Linked DNA regions of Homo sapiens: region 1 is linked to region 2. Evidence: promoter capture Hi-C in 16 types of primary human blood cells and fetal thymus (Javierre and others, 2016). All regions are on one chromosome and are shown on one strand. Each heading gives the region's core, a stretch centred on a gene start or on the middle of the fragment in contact. The rest is flanking DNA. Distances are from core to core; before and after follow the strand shown.

Region 1 (6,995 bases), core at 1,903-4,402, 560 kb before region 2:
CATTTTCTACTGCTTTCCTTTTGCCTGCTGTGCTCCAACCACCCTTGCTGCCTTACTTTTTTTCCATTTTGTCACGTGCCTGCACTTCCAGGCCTTTGCTCTTGCTCATCCCACTTGCTGGATTGCTCTTCTAGAGAGTTGCGTAGCTTTCTTTAGGTCAGTGAGACTTCCTCAGAAACTCTGTCAGTGATTGTTATTATTGACAATCAATAAACCGGTTACTGAACAAAGTGAGTGAATAAATGAAATATTGTGTTTATTTATACATGTATGATACAGGCTATATAGTTTGTGTGCATAATGATGTTAATATACATACTCAGTTTTGACATACATGTCAAACCCTATCTAACACCTCCCCCTTCCTTGCTAGCGTTTTCTAGTTTTTTATTTTTTTGAGATAGGGTCTCACTCTGTTGTCCAGGTTGGAGTTCACTGCAGCCTCAACTTCCCACGCTCAAGTGATCCTCCTACCTCAGCCTCCCGGGTAGCTGGGACCACAGGTGTGTGCCACCACACCCAGCCAACTTTTTGTATTTTTTCTAGAAATGGGGTTTTGTCATGCGGCCCAGACTGGTCTCAAACTCCTAGGCTCAAGCCAGCCTCCCACCTCGGCCCCACAAAGTGCTGGGATTGCAGATGTGAGCCACTGCGCCCAGCCCTTGCTAGCATTTTCTATCCTTCTTTTTGCTTTTTTACCATGTTCATTGATTTTAAGATGCTATGTTCTACATTTTGACATCTGAAATTCTGATGTCTTAATAATCAGTGGTGTCTTACAATGTTAATAGGCAGTGTTTTTTTTTTACGTAGTGACATATAAAATAATGATGTTTCTTAAAATTGATGGCTCCTTGCTATTTTTCTCCAGAACACTTATCACCATTTGATATAATGTTTGTTATTGACAGTGATTAGAATTAAGGTTCTGTTGGGGTAGAACTTTGTTTTGTTCACTGCTGTGCCCTCAGTACTTAAGACAATATCTGGTACGTAATGGACAATTAATAACTGGTTACTGAACAGTCAGTGAATAAATAAAGTATTGTATTTATGCATGTATGGTATGGACTACATAGTTTGTGTGCATAATGATGTTAATATACACATACAGTTTTGACATACATGTGATTTGTGTTATGTGGGCATAAGTTATTCACAGATTACCTGTGTCTTGCTCCAATATGGTAAATGCTCTGAAGCACAATAGATACTATCTAGTACATTTTTTGTCTTTTATATTATTTTTAGTATACTAATATCATCTTTTACATAAATGTGGTTTATATGAAATAGTAATCACTGATTTGCTTAACTTCTTTACTCAACTTTGTATCAGTTAGGATGTCATTGGCAGCAAGTAACAGGCACCCAACTCAAGTTGGCTTAAACCAATAAGGAAATGGATTAATTTATGTAGCAAGTCCAGAGGTGGAGTGGGTTGTAGGCATGGTGTGTTGGGATTTCTTAAAACCTTTAGAGAAAGACTGTTTACCATTTCCTTGGTATTTCTTTTTGCTATTCCTTAACTTTTTAAGGCTTCTTCACTTATTGTAGACTAGGTTATATCTAATTTGTATGGTCATAGAGGAAGGGTGTACAATTTTCTACACTGGAAATCTTGAAAAACATTTTATTTCAGTGATTGATTTTTATTCCTCCTTTCCCTTTCCCTCTTGCTCTTCTTCTGTGTAATTTTTAGCAGCTTCTCTCCTTTTAAAAGTCAAATACCATCAGTATTACTAAAAGTTTAGGAAAATGAGGAAGGAGTAGAAGATCACTCATAATGCTATTACCCTAACAAATACCCTTAACAATTTATGTATTTACTTTTTCTCTTTTTATATGCATATTGTTTTTACATAGTTATATTCATTGTGTACATTTAATTTTTTTAGTGTTATATTTCTGTACCCTTCAGATGCTATAAAGTTTTCATAATGATCATTTTAATGATACAACATATTTTTAAATACTAGAAAATTTGGTGGTGCACCTGAAGAGGTTAAAACTAAGAGAGGCTGGGTGTGGTGGCTCCCCTCTGTAATTCCAGCACTTTGGAAGGCTGAAGCTTGTGGATCACTTGAAGCCAGGAGTTTGAGACCTCCCTGGGCAACAAAGCAAGACTCCATCTCTACAAAACTAAAATTTAAAAAAAAATTCTCTGGGTGTGGTGGTGTGTACTTGTAGTCCCAGCTACTCAGGAGGCTGAGGCAGGAGAATGGCATGAACCCAGGAGGCGGAGCTTGCAGTGAGCCAAGATAGCCCCACTGCACTCAGCCTGGGTGACAGAGCGAGACTCCGCCAAAAAAAAAATAAAAGCTCCAGAATACAATAAGAAAGGTGCTCTTGGAGTTGCACATCCCTAATACTCTGCTTTGTCATTACCTCTCTGCATTTGGGAGGTGGTTTTACTAAAATTTTAACCAAAAAATAAAACTATAAGATGGATGAATAAACTTTTAAATGCAGATATTGTTGCAGATAATGTATTACCTTCTAAAGTTGACATTTGTTAAAAAATTTCTTTGATACCTAATATCTGGGTATATTTATGGAGTGCAAATGATATTTTGATACATGTACAGATTGTGGGATGATTAAGTCAGAGTACTTAGGCTATCCATTATGTGGCATTTATTATATCTTTTTGTGTTGGGAACATTTCACATACTCTCTTCTAGGTATTTTGAAATATACAATACATTGTTGTTAACTATAGTCACTGTACTGTGCTATTGAACGTTAGAACTTATTAAAATGGACATTTCTTTAAAACAAAAAAAGCAAATATATAAACATTCTATTTTTCCCAAATTGGCCTTCACCAAAAGAGGTTGTGGCACTATTGATTTAAATCAAATGAATACTTGAGTCTTGTTGAGTGCAGGTTGCTGTTTCATGACATTCTAAAAAATTAAAGTTAGCCTTAATTCATCTCAATAGTCCTTATTGTTAATATATACCATTTACTACACACTCTCCATGTGTCAGGCATCCTACTAGGCTTTTTTTTTTTTTTTTTTTTTTTTGAGACGGAGTCTCGCTCTGTCGCCCAGGCTGGAGTGCAGTAGCGCGATCTTGGCTCACTGCAAGCTCCGCCTCCCAGGTTCACGCCATTCTCCTGCCTCAGCCTCCCGAGTAGCTGGGACTACAGGCGCCCACCACCATGCCTGGCTAATTTTTTGTATTTTTTAGTAGAGACGGGGTTTCACCGTGTTAGCCAGGGTGGTCTCAATCTCCTGACCTCGTGATCCACCCGCCTTGGCCTCCCAAAGTGCTGGGATTACAGATGTGAGCCACCGTGCCTGGCCCTCTACTAGGCTTTTAAAGTTATCAGCTGAATCCTGACAATTTAAGGTGTACTTCTTATTCCCATTCTGCACATGGGGAAATAAAATAAGTGGGATTAAGTGACTTCCCTAAGGTCCTGTAGCTACAAAATAGCCCATCTAGTTCAGTGCGACTCCAAAGTCCCATTTTTCTGTTAAAAAACAAAGTACTAAAATACTAATACTGTAAGTCTTTTCTTGAGAAAATAATATTGCAATAATCAATCAATGAAGAAAAGTATAAATAAATTTTTTTTATTTTTATTGTTTTAACATTATGTTTTTAACTTTTTTGTTTTTAAGATGAGACCCCAGAATGACTTAAGGCTGAGCATATAGAGTATTCTGTATGCACATAACCCCACCTCCAGGGGAAGTTAGTTTTGAGTAACCTATATTTCTGTTTATATTTACTAAAATGACGAATTTAAGAGATTCATGAATTATGGATGTTAGGATAGATTAATGGAGAGGGATATAGTAGAGTCACAAAAATATGCATATAAGACTGATTATTTTGAGTCACAATGGATTGTAAAGTTCCAAAAGTGTGGGAAGCAGCAACTTTGCCTGTTCAGAATTTGAGAGAAGTAGGTATTACTACTGTTTATTCACAAACCCAATTGTCACTTCATTCAACAAATACTTTCTGGGTTCCTGCTTGTGTACCAGGCACCAGGGTAGGAACTGGAGATGCAATAGTGAATCCAACAAAATCTTTAACCCTCATAGAGCATTCTATTTTTTGTGCGAAAGCAGAGAGTAAACCTTGAGTATGACAAGTCTTGGATAAATGCTCTGGTATTTGGGGAGGATGGATATCATTAGATGGAGTGATCTAGGAAGCACTCTTCAAGAAGTACATGTGAGTGGAGCTCTGAATGATGCAGGAGGAAGCTTTGCAGCTCTCTAGAGAGAGAGATTCCAGTCAGAAGCTAACAGCCAAGACTCTGAGGCAGGAGCGTGCTTGGAATATGTGAGAAATAGCAAGGAGGCCAGTATGGCTGAACCATAATGAACAAGGTGAACAGTGGTTGTAGAGCTTTGAGGTGTGTTAAGGGTTTGGGATTTTGTTTTTGGTATGATCATTGGCCATGGAAGGATTTCAAGCAGGAAAGAGTGACATGCTATGTGGGAAATAGACTGTAGGGAGGCAAGAGTGGAAGGCTGTTGCAGCAACCCATATGAGATTTTTTGGTGGCTTTGGCCAGGGTGGTAGTTGTGAAGGTGGTAATAAATGCTTTTATTCAGATGTATTTTGAGAGTGGATTTTAGAGCATATACTGATGACTTAGATGTAGCTGAAAAAGGGGGTCTTGTACCATTTCTGAGATTGGGTCTGGCCTGTTTGTTTTCTTGCCACAGAATGTGCTGCCTTTTAAATGCTTTCTGTGTTTTAGTGATGGAAGGGTTCTAGCAAAGTCTGGTGCATTGATTCCTCTAGTACTTCTGCTTCCAGTTTAGGTTCCTGTTTCTCTCAGGAGGCCTTGGACAGTACTAAAATGTTAATACAAAGGCAACTCTGACTGTCCACTTATCTTTATATGCTGCTACTTCGCATGTTTTCCAGTTTTTTTTATTCTGTTAGTCTTATATGCATCTCTCTATTTTCCTGTGATATGGTGAGATTTTCTCTGATCATGGTTTATTAGGAAATTAGAAAGAAGAGGAAGAGGAAGGTTAAGATTTGAACAGTTGTATAATGGCCTCCAGAGCAGCTGCTCCTCTTCCCTGCTTCGGCTGCTTCCACCTGTTGCCTGGATCTGGACTCTGAGATTAGGCCAGCTATCTGCTCCTTCTGTTCTCCCTCAGATAGCAAGGTGTGAAAATGAAGGTCAAATATGGTTATAATATTAATAGGAATACAGATTGTGAATACAGATTGAAAATCTGTGGCTACAGATAAAGAAAAAGACTATGTTAGTTGTAATTTAGACAGTATCTCTATTTTTAAGAGGAGAAAATTGAAGCACATTAGACAGAAAGTTGGATGAGGACCGAACTTAGTTTTACATTTCTAGTAGGTAAGTATTCAATTTTTCACCGGAATATTAGATTTTCACTGGAAGTTCATTTGCAGTGGAATGAAATCTAAGTTTATAATATTAGGGAGCATGAGTTATGTAGAAACATTGCTTCTAGAATTGCCAAGAGTATACAAATAAAACTTCCATTAAGTGATGTTAAAAGTAAAACTTTGCATTTGTTTTTTATCTGAGTGCTTAAAATGGTCATACAGGTAGTAGATTGTCCAAGCATTAAAGAGAGGCACATGTATAATTAACTGTTTGGCAACTCGGATGGCTATAGTCCATTAGGTTATGGTGGCCACCCTCGAACTCACAGAGGATGTTTAAAACCACTTAATAGTTATAGGACCCATTGTAGACATTTGTTGTCAAAAAAAGGAGCACAGATGAGAGGCATGGGATGAATCCATTCTTTCTTATCAAATTTTAAGGTGTAAAGCTTTGTTTCATTAAAGTTCCCACCTGAGCTGATACTGAAACCGTGCTTGCCTCACAGAGTTGTTATGAAGATTAAATGATTTATGTGTGAAAGCAGGTTGTAAACTTAAAGTTGCACATATAAGGAGCACCATTAAAAATTTTGGTTTAATACTTAAAAACATTTTCTTGGCACTATTACAAAGAAAATAAAAATAAAATTTTTCAATTGTTTTTTCCATGCATTGTTTTAATGGTGTTTATTTTTATTCTAAGGTAGAGTTGACAAAAATTGTATATATTTACAGTGTACAATTTGATGTTTTGATGCATGTATATATTGTAAAATGGTTAAATCAGGCTAATATATTAATTAACTCAAATAGTTATAATTTTTTGTTGTGGTATTTGTTTGTTAATAGCAGTTGTCTGTTTTCCTAGCAACTAATATGTAATATCATATTGATTCCAGGGGGCTCGAGTTGGTAGAATAGATGCTTTTGTTCAGAGCTTGGACAAAAATTTTATGGTTCCAGTAGGTGGTGCTATAATTGCTGGCTTTAATGATTCATTCATTCAGGAAATCAGCAAGATGTATCCAGGTAAATAAATAAGTTGCTTTTCAGAAAAAGTAGCTAACAAACAAAAATCCATTTGTACATAGGCTATTGTAGTAAATCTTAATTTCCAAAGCTACCCCCCCACCACAGTCTTAATGTAACTTATCCTTCTTATTTCAGGAAGAGCTTCAGCTTCACCTTCTTTAGATGTCCTTATTACTTTATTGTCACTTGGATCAAATGGCTATAAGAAGCTACTAAAAGAAAGAAAGGTAAGCTTTCCCTTTAGGTGTCGAATAACATTCTTGACTAGAACTGTGCTCCAAATCATTGGTGTTTTCTGCCTGTTGGTTTCTTGCACTGGGAGGGAGACATCTAGTATGGTCCGATAGTATTTATTCAGATCTGGAACCACCATAGGTGGTTTCCTATTACTTTTTGTCAGCCTGTCTATCCAGATATTACGAGGAATCTGGGTTAGGTGATTTTGCTTTTATTTATTTACTTTTTAGAAACTCCTGCATTAGGGACTCTTATTCAATAAAATTCAATTCATTTATCACTTAAAGGTACTTAAAGGTAGAAGCTCTTAAAAGACAAATGGATAAGTCATCTTTTTAGTTTTTGGAAACTTGAAAATTGTTTAGGAGTGAGAT
Region 2 (6,719 bases), core at 3,525-6,024:
CAGATGACAAATTCCTCATCTCAACACATCCATGTTGTTTTCTCTGTCTGTGGGTCGCACCTGACTTTTTAAAGCTTCAGGGCCTTTGCACAGGCTGTTTCCTCTGCTTGGAATGCTTTCTGCCCTCTCTGCCTGGACAATTTGCATTCTTTTTTTTTTTTTTTTTGAGATGGAGTTTTGCTCCTGTTGCCCAGGCTGGAGGGCAATGATGTGACCTTGGCTCACCGCAACCTCCGCCTCCTGGGTTCAAGCAATTCTCCCACCTTAGCCTCCCGAGTAGCTGGGATTACAGGTATGCACCACTATGCCCGGCTAATTTTGTATTTTTAGTAGAGATGGGGTTTCTCCATGTTGGTCAGGCTGGTCTTGAACTCCTGACCTCAGGTGATCTGCCTGCCTTGGCCTCCCAAAGTGCTGGGATTGCATTTATTTTTAAGGTTTTTGTCTAAATGTTTCTTTCTCAGAGAGGCATTCCCTAACCCTCAATGTAGATCAAGGCCACTTGTTATATGCTCTCACAATGCCTGTCGTCTGTAGCTGGCCTTTTCAGCACTTATCATCGTGATAACAACATAGTTATTTATGTGTTTAGCTGTTCAGTGCCTGTCTCTCTCCCTCTGCCACGTTTTATGAAGGCAAGAACTATGGCTATTTTCTTCTTTCCTCTTTCCCCAGCACTTAATGCCTGACATGGGAGCTTAATACATATTTGTTGATTGAATAAATAAATGGTAATAGTGATACTGTACAATGGTCAATAGTGCGGCTCTAGAGTTGGACTGGGTTCAAATAATCCAAATCCCCACTTGTCCACTGAGAGTTCTGTAAACTAGTTCTCTACATGGACAATGCAGAAGTTTTATCAGTTCATGTTCATCTTGTCAGACTGGGAGAACTTATCTTCAGTAACCACACCTTAGACGAATAAAGTGGAACGAGAATATCTATTTATCAGCCGCAGCAGAACATAGCAATTAAGCACACACACTGTCTGGGCTGAATCTCAGAACTGTCATCTTGGCCAAAATACTTGCCTCTTTGAGTAACAGTTTCCTCAGCTGTAAATAAGAGTAATTCATTGGACTAAACTTGAAGTTGCTGTAAGTCTCAAATAGGCTCAAATGTGTAAGGAACAGCATCTGGCTCATAGTGCTTTGTATGTGTTTGCTATTAGCAATTATTTTTTATTAATTTAGGTTGACTTGAGACCCTGCAGCTGGTTAGCTGCATAAGACATTTCCTCCAGGTGAGAAAGTCCATGTCATAGGCCAGAGGGTTGTCTAGTAGAGAAAGAGTAACAGTAAGGGAAAATAGGATATTATCTGGAAATATTTCCAGCCAAGTTTGTGGAGGGCCTGGTGGGTGCCTTTTCTCTACTCCAGGGATAATGATGTCTGAAAATCCAGGGTGGATCATTTAGACCTAGAATTCTACCCTTCTTCCCAAGGAGTGTGCACATCCTGGCAGCCTCTGGCCACTTGTTCCCCTTATTCTAGATTCCAGAGAGGTCACTATCCTTCAATAAGTAGGGCCTTTCTCTTTCCTCCTTTCCTTCTTTTCTTCCTTTCTTCTTTCCTTCCTTTCTTCCTTTCTTTCTTTCCTTCTTTCCTTCCTTTCTGTCTTTCTCTCTTTCTTTCTTTCTGATGGCGTCTTGCTCTGTTGCCCAGGCTGGAGTGCAGTGGCACAATCTTGGCTCACTGCGACCTCAACCTCCCGGGTTCAAGTGATTCTCCTGCCTCAGCCTCCTGAGTAGCTGGGATTACAGGCATGTGCCACTATGCCTGGCTCATTTTTGTATTTTTAGTAGAGACGGGGTTTCACCATGTTGGTCAGCCTGGTCTCGAACTCCTGACCTCATGATCCACCTGCCTCGGCCTCCCAAAGTGCTGGAATTACAGGTGTGAACCACCACGCCTGCCCAGGGCCTTTCTTTAATTGTTCAGGTCACAACACAACTGATGAGGTTATGGTTTTCTTTAGCTGTAACCTAGGCCCAAGGGAAAAGTCTCATCACCTTGATTTCAGTTCCTCTTTCATCATTTATGAGAGGCTGACATCTGAGTGGAGCACTTCTGCAGGTAGAATTCTAACTTTTTTCCCTGATTATTTCTCCAAAATTTTAGAGCACTTTATAGCAGTCATCAAACTGGAAACCTGAAGACTGAGATTTTAATACTTCAAGTGAAATCTGTATTTTATTCTGACTTTGATACCAACTGATTGTGTGAACTTCAATAAGACCTAGGGGTTCAGTTTCCCTCATTTGTAAAATTAAGCAAAAAGAGAAAAATCAGATGGAATCCAGTGATTATACATCATGATCTGAAAAAAGTCAACACAATTGTCCCTCAGTATCCACTAGGGATTGGTTCCAGGAGAAACTGCCGACACTAAAGTCCGTGGAGGTTCAAGTGTCTGATATAAAATAGTACAGTATTTGCATATAACCTATGCACATTCTTCTGTATACTTAATCATCACTAGATCACTTATAATACCTAATACAATGTAATTGCTATGGAAATAGCTGTTATACTGTATTGTTTAAGAAATAAGAGCAAGAAAAAGTCTGTACATGTTCAATACAGATGCAACCATCCATTTTTAAAGAAAAATATATTTTTGATTTGCAGTTGATTGAATCCAGGGATAAGGAACCCACAGATAATAGAAGGCCAACTCATCATTTTAATTTCAGTTTTTTCCTATACATATGTAATTATGATAAAGTGTAACTTATAAATTAGGCACAGTAAGATATTAACAACTAATAATAAAACATTTATAACAACATACAGACAGTCTTGACTTACAATTGTTTGACCAGATTTTTTGACTTCACGATGGGTTTATCGGTATATTAACTGCATGTTCAACTTACAACATTTTCAGTTTACGATGGCTTTGCGATGGCCATCACCCCATCATAAGTCAAGGAGAATCTATACTGTAATAGAAGCTATGTGAATGTGGTCTTTCTCTCAGAATATCTTACTGTACTGTGAAAGCAAAACCAGGGACAAAGTAGGGACTATGGTACATTTAGGATAGAAAGTTGTACTGAATATTTCACAAGTGAAAAATATACTCATTTTTCTTTGTGTTGACTTTCCAATGTGGATTTGGTACAAAAAAATAAAAACCCTCCTTACCAATTGCTGGCTGGGTGCAGTGGCTCACGCCTGTAATCCCAGCACTTTGGGAGGCCGAGGTGGGCAGATCACTTGAGGTCCGGAGTTCAAGACCAGCCTGGCCAGCATGGCGACACCTCGTCTCTACGTCTCTACTAAAAATACCAAAATTAGCCGGGCGCGTAGCCGGGCGTGGTGGCGGGCGCTTATAATCCCAGCTAGGAGGGAGGCTGAGGCAGGAGAATGGCTTAAACCCGGGAGGCGGAGGTTGCAGTGAGCTGAGATTGCACCACTGTCCTCCAGCCTGGGCGACAGAGCAAGACTGTCTCAAAACAAACACACAAACCCCTCATCAGTTGCAATATTTAAGTTGCATTTAATCCTAGCAATTGCAGTCCTGAGATTTGGATAAGAACCAGAGTATGGTCTTCCAGGGCAGCCAAACCAAGCCATTCCATGAACAACAGAGATCACCCTGCTGCAGATGGTCCACAGATCTTTTCTTGTGCATTTCTTCTGGGAACAAATGCAACTGAGGAAGCAGACATATTCTAGGGGGAGAGATCCACAAAAATCCTTAGAGTCATCTTGCCCCACCTCCTTGTTATGGCTTTAGGTACAGCCCTTATGGCTAGGAGATGTAACCTTCCTCAGCCTTTGCGTCTACGTCTACAAAATAACAACTACCTTGCAGGGTGTTATTTAACACTGCGAAAGTGCATTAATAGGCACAGAAAAACAAAAAACAAAAAAGCAAATTGTGCCCTCACTGCGAATTCTCTGTATTCTAGTTAAAAACATCTATAGCTTGGGTGCATGGTGTCCGTGCTGGGCAAGAAAAGGGCAAAATAGATCATGACAAGCCTTAACATTTTCTCACTTCAGTTTCCTCACTGCAATTGATTTTTTTTTTTCTTTCAAGTCGGAGTCTTGTTCTGTCGTCCAGGCTGGAGTGCACTGGTGTGATCTCGTCTCACCGCAACCTCCGCCTCCCAGGTTCAAGCGATTCTCCTGCCTCAGCCTACCGAGTAGCTGGGATTACAGGCGTACGCCACCACGCCCAGCTAATTTTTGTATTTTTAGTAGAGACGGGGTTTCACCGTGTTGGCCAGGCTGGTCTCGAACTCCTGACCTCGTGATCCACCCGCCTCGGTCTCCCAAAGCGTTGGGATTACAGGCGTGAACCATCGCGCGGCCCCTCACTGCAACTGAGGGTAGCGCAGTGGCCGCAAGTTCCAGATCTGGAGTTACTAAATAGCTGGGTTCCAATCCCGGCTCTGCCACTTATTAGCTGTACGATCTTCATTCGTTTCTCAACCTCTCTGGGTCTGAGATTCCCTTAAAGCCGGGGTAATAGAAATGAATAGGATTTCCTAACTAGGACTAGACTTTCTCAATTTCTTGACTCAGAGGGGCAAGGATAGCCTGAAATGGAAAGTGAAGGCCTTCAGGTTCTTCCTAACAGCCGCTCCGAGGAGGGGAAAGCTACAGGAAGAGGGAGGAGACCCAAGAAAGGTCGGACCAATGAGGCAGCGGGCGGGACAGGAGTTCCCGCCTTTGGGCGTCGTGCGCGCGCACCTCGCTCACACGCACACTCGCACGCACGCACGCTGCGGAAGCGCGCGCGCGCGCAGGCCCAGCCCTCGTCGCCGCCGCCATTTTAGCTGTTGGTTCCGGCCGCACCGTGTGGGCTGTAGTAGCGGGAGGGGTGGGGGTCCTCCAGAGTTAAGTGGCTGTCCTCGACTGTGCCCATACAGCAGCCAGCTTTCTTCCTTAATAACTGCCCGTTCGAAGAGTGCGAGGATGTCCAAGCGGCACCGGTTGGACCTAGGGGAGGATTACCCCTCTGGCAAGAAGCGTGCGGGGACCGATGGGTAAGCCAGGCCGGGGGCGCGAGGCGGCAGCTCGGGCTTTGTTGGGGTCCTGGCAGGGAGCGGGCCGGGGCTGGCCTGGCCGAGCGGGTCCTGGAGCCCGAGCCTTTGTTTCTCTCTGGGCTGGGTTCACTAGCGGCGGGTAGGAGAAGCGCGGCGCCCGTTCGGCCCGGCAAGGGCGCGGGGGGTTGCGTGCGACGGGGCCGCTGCCCAGCCCAGTCCGGAGGGTGGAGAGGCCTGCAGTAGCCATGAGGGCGCCTCCTCCCCCAGGCCGAACCGAGCGGGAGTCATTTGCGAGGGCGTCGGGCGGGAGTGAACCGCGGACCTCGTGGCCTCGGTTCCCGAGGAAGGCCTGGAGCCGGAGGAGAGGGTGGGGGAGGGCGCGGTGGGAGTATTCGCTTCCAAGGGCAGCAGGCACTTCCCAGCCAGAGGGGCCGTGGGGAGGGCCTGGGTGGGGGCGCGGCCAGGCACTCCAGACGGGAAAGGCGGAGGGCGGAAAGTGAGAGCAGCGCGTGGATCATAATGTAGGCTGGGATGGGGGTGGCGGGAGTTGAGAGAAGCCAGCAAATAGGGAGTTCTCGGGGGAGGTGGGAGTAGAGGACCTGCCGGGAGAAAGGAAAACGTGGAGTAATATACCTGATGGGCTGGAAGGCTGGTGTTTTGGGGCGACTGAGTTTATAGTTTGGCGGGAGAGAGCGTGCCTTGGTCCATTCAAACACTTCAAAGTAGATACTAGCAAACTTCCGCTCTCTGCCTACGCTCCCGCCATCTCCTGTATTTCCTGCTTTGGTTAAAACTGGTTACTGAACATCGTCCCATGGGGAGGGATTAGAAGGCATTGTTTTTTTTTTTCATCATTTATTTTCTATGCATGTCCCACTTTTCTTCATAAGTAGCTTTTGAAATACAGGGATCATGTTCAAAACGTGTTTTTAGTATTTATGGCGAAACACCGCCCATGTGGAGGTTGAGAGTTGAAATACTTACACAAACTCTTGGTGTTCCAGATTCCTTTCCTTAAAGGTACAGAGGAATTTAGCAGTTAATTTAAGCAATTTCGTGAAAATCATTTCTTGTCCCTTGTGTGTTTTCATTGATGAAGTACAAAGACCTGTTTGGATAATTCAGGCAAAACCCACAAAAGCCCGAGTAGCCAAATACTTTGCATAATTGTATCATTTTATTGTGTACTTGTGATACAGAATCACTGTGTCAAGTCACCTGTATAGCTGTTTTGAATTTTTCAGCTAAAGTTCTTCATTGAAATTGATTTCCAGGGATATGTTTAGTGTCATTGTAGAGTATAAGCCAGGATAGGGTGTACTTTTTGAGGCTTTGCCATATGTTGAATTATTCAATAGAAAGCAAAAGCATGTCACATTTTAATTTTGTGAGTTATTTAGTTTACGATATTAGGCATTGTAAAAAAGACAATGACATTGTAAGACAGACTCTCTTTAGGCTATCACCCTCCCCCACCATTACGCCCCACAAAACGTTAATACCTCTGAGCTGTATGTCACAGACTCAGAGCTGGAAGCAACTTAAAAAAGACTATACGCGGCTCCAATCAAGGAATGAGAAGTGGAGAACAGAGTTAAGGTGGCTTGTGCAAGTTTACAGCAGGATCTGGAACCCTGCCTTTGTCATTTTCACTCAGCAGCACACAGTTCAGTACTGTAGTTAAGAGTCATTACAGCCTATTTTAATGACATTT

What was found. The method cuts DNA at HindIII sites, captures the fragments that hold promoters and counts their contacts. A CHiCAGO score of 5 or more calls a contact.
Region 1: a fragment that was not itself captured here is called in contact with the fragment with the promoter of DHX15 in region 2 in 2 of 17 cell types (erythroblasts and total B cells); the score reaches 7.5 in erythroblasts.

What each region holds. Positions count from the first base shown.
Region 1 is chr4:25,144,390-25,151,384 of GRCh38, reverse strand. It overlaps SEPSECS (Sep (O-phosphoserine) tRNA:Sec (selenocysteine) tRNA synthase), which reads left to right. Exons shown (of 11, transcript NM_016955.4): 7 at 6,252-6,381; 8 at 6,520-6,611. Among named protein-coding and RNA genes, the nearest start is that of SEPSECS, 13 kb to the left of the region's middle. The HindIII fragment of the contact is 2,158 bases long and covers 2,074-4,231 here.
Region 2 is chr4:24,582,609-24,589,327 of GRCh38, reverse strand. DHX15 (DEAH-box helicase 15) reads left to right here and starts at 4,774. Exons shown (of 14, transcript NM_001358.3): 1 at 4,774-5,005. The coding sequence starts at 4,935. It overlaps LOC124900682 (a long non-coding RNA gene), which reads left to right. Exons shown (of 2, transcript XR_007058078.1): 2 at 1-741. RefSeq lists an enhancer at 4,336-4,875 and silencers at 5,056-5,175, 5,186-5,265, 5,466-5,515. The HindIII fragment of the contact is 7,218 bases long and covers 77-6,719 here.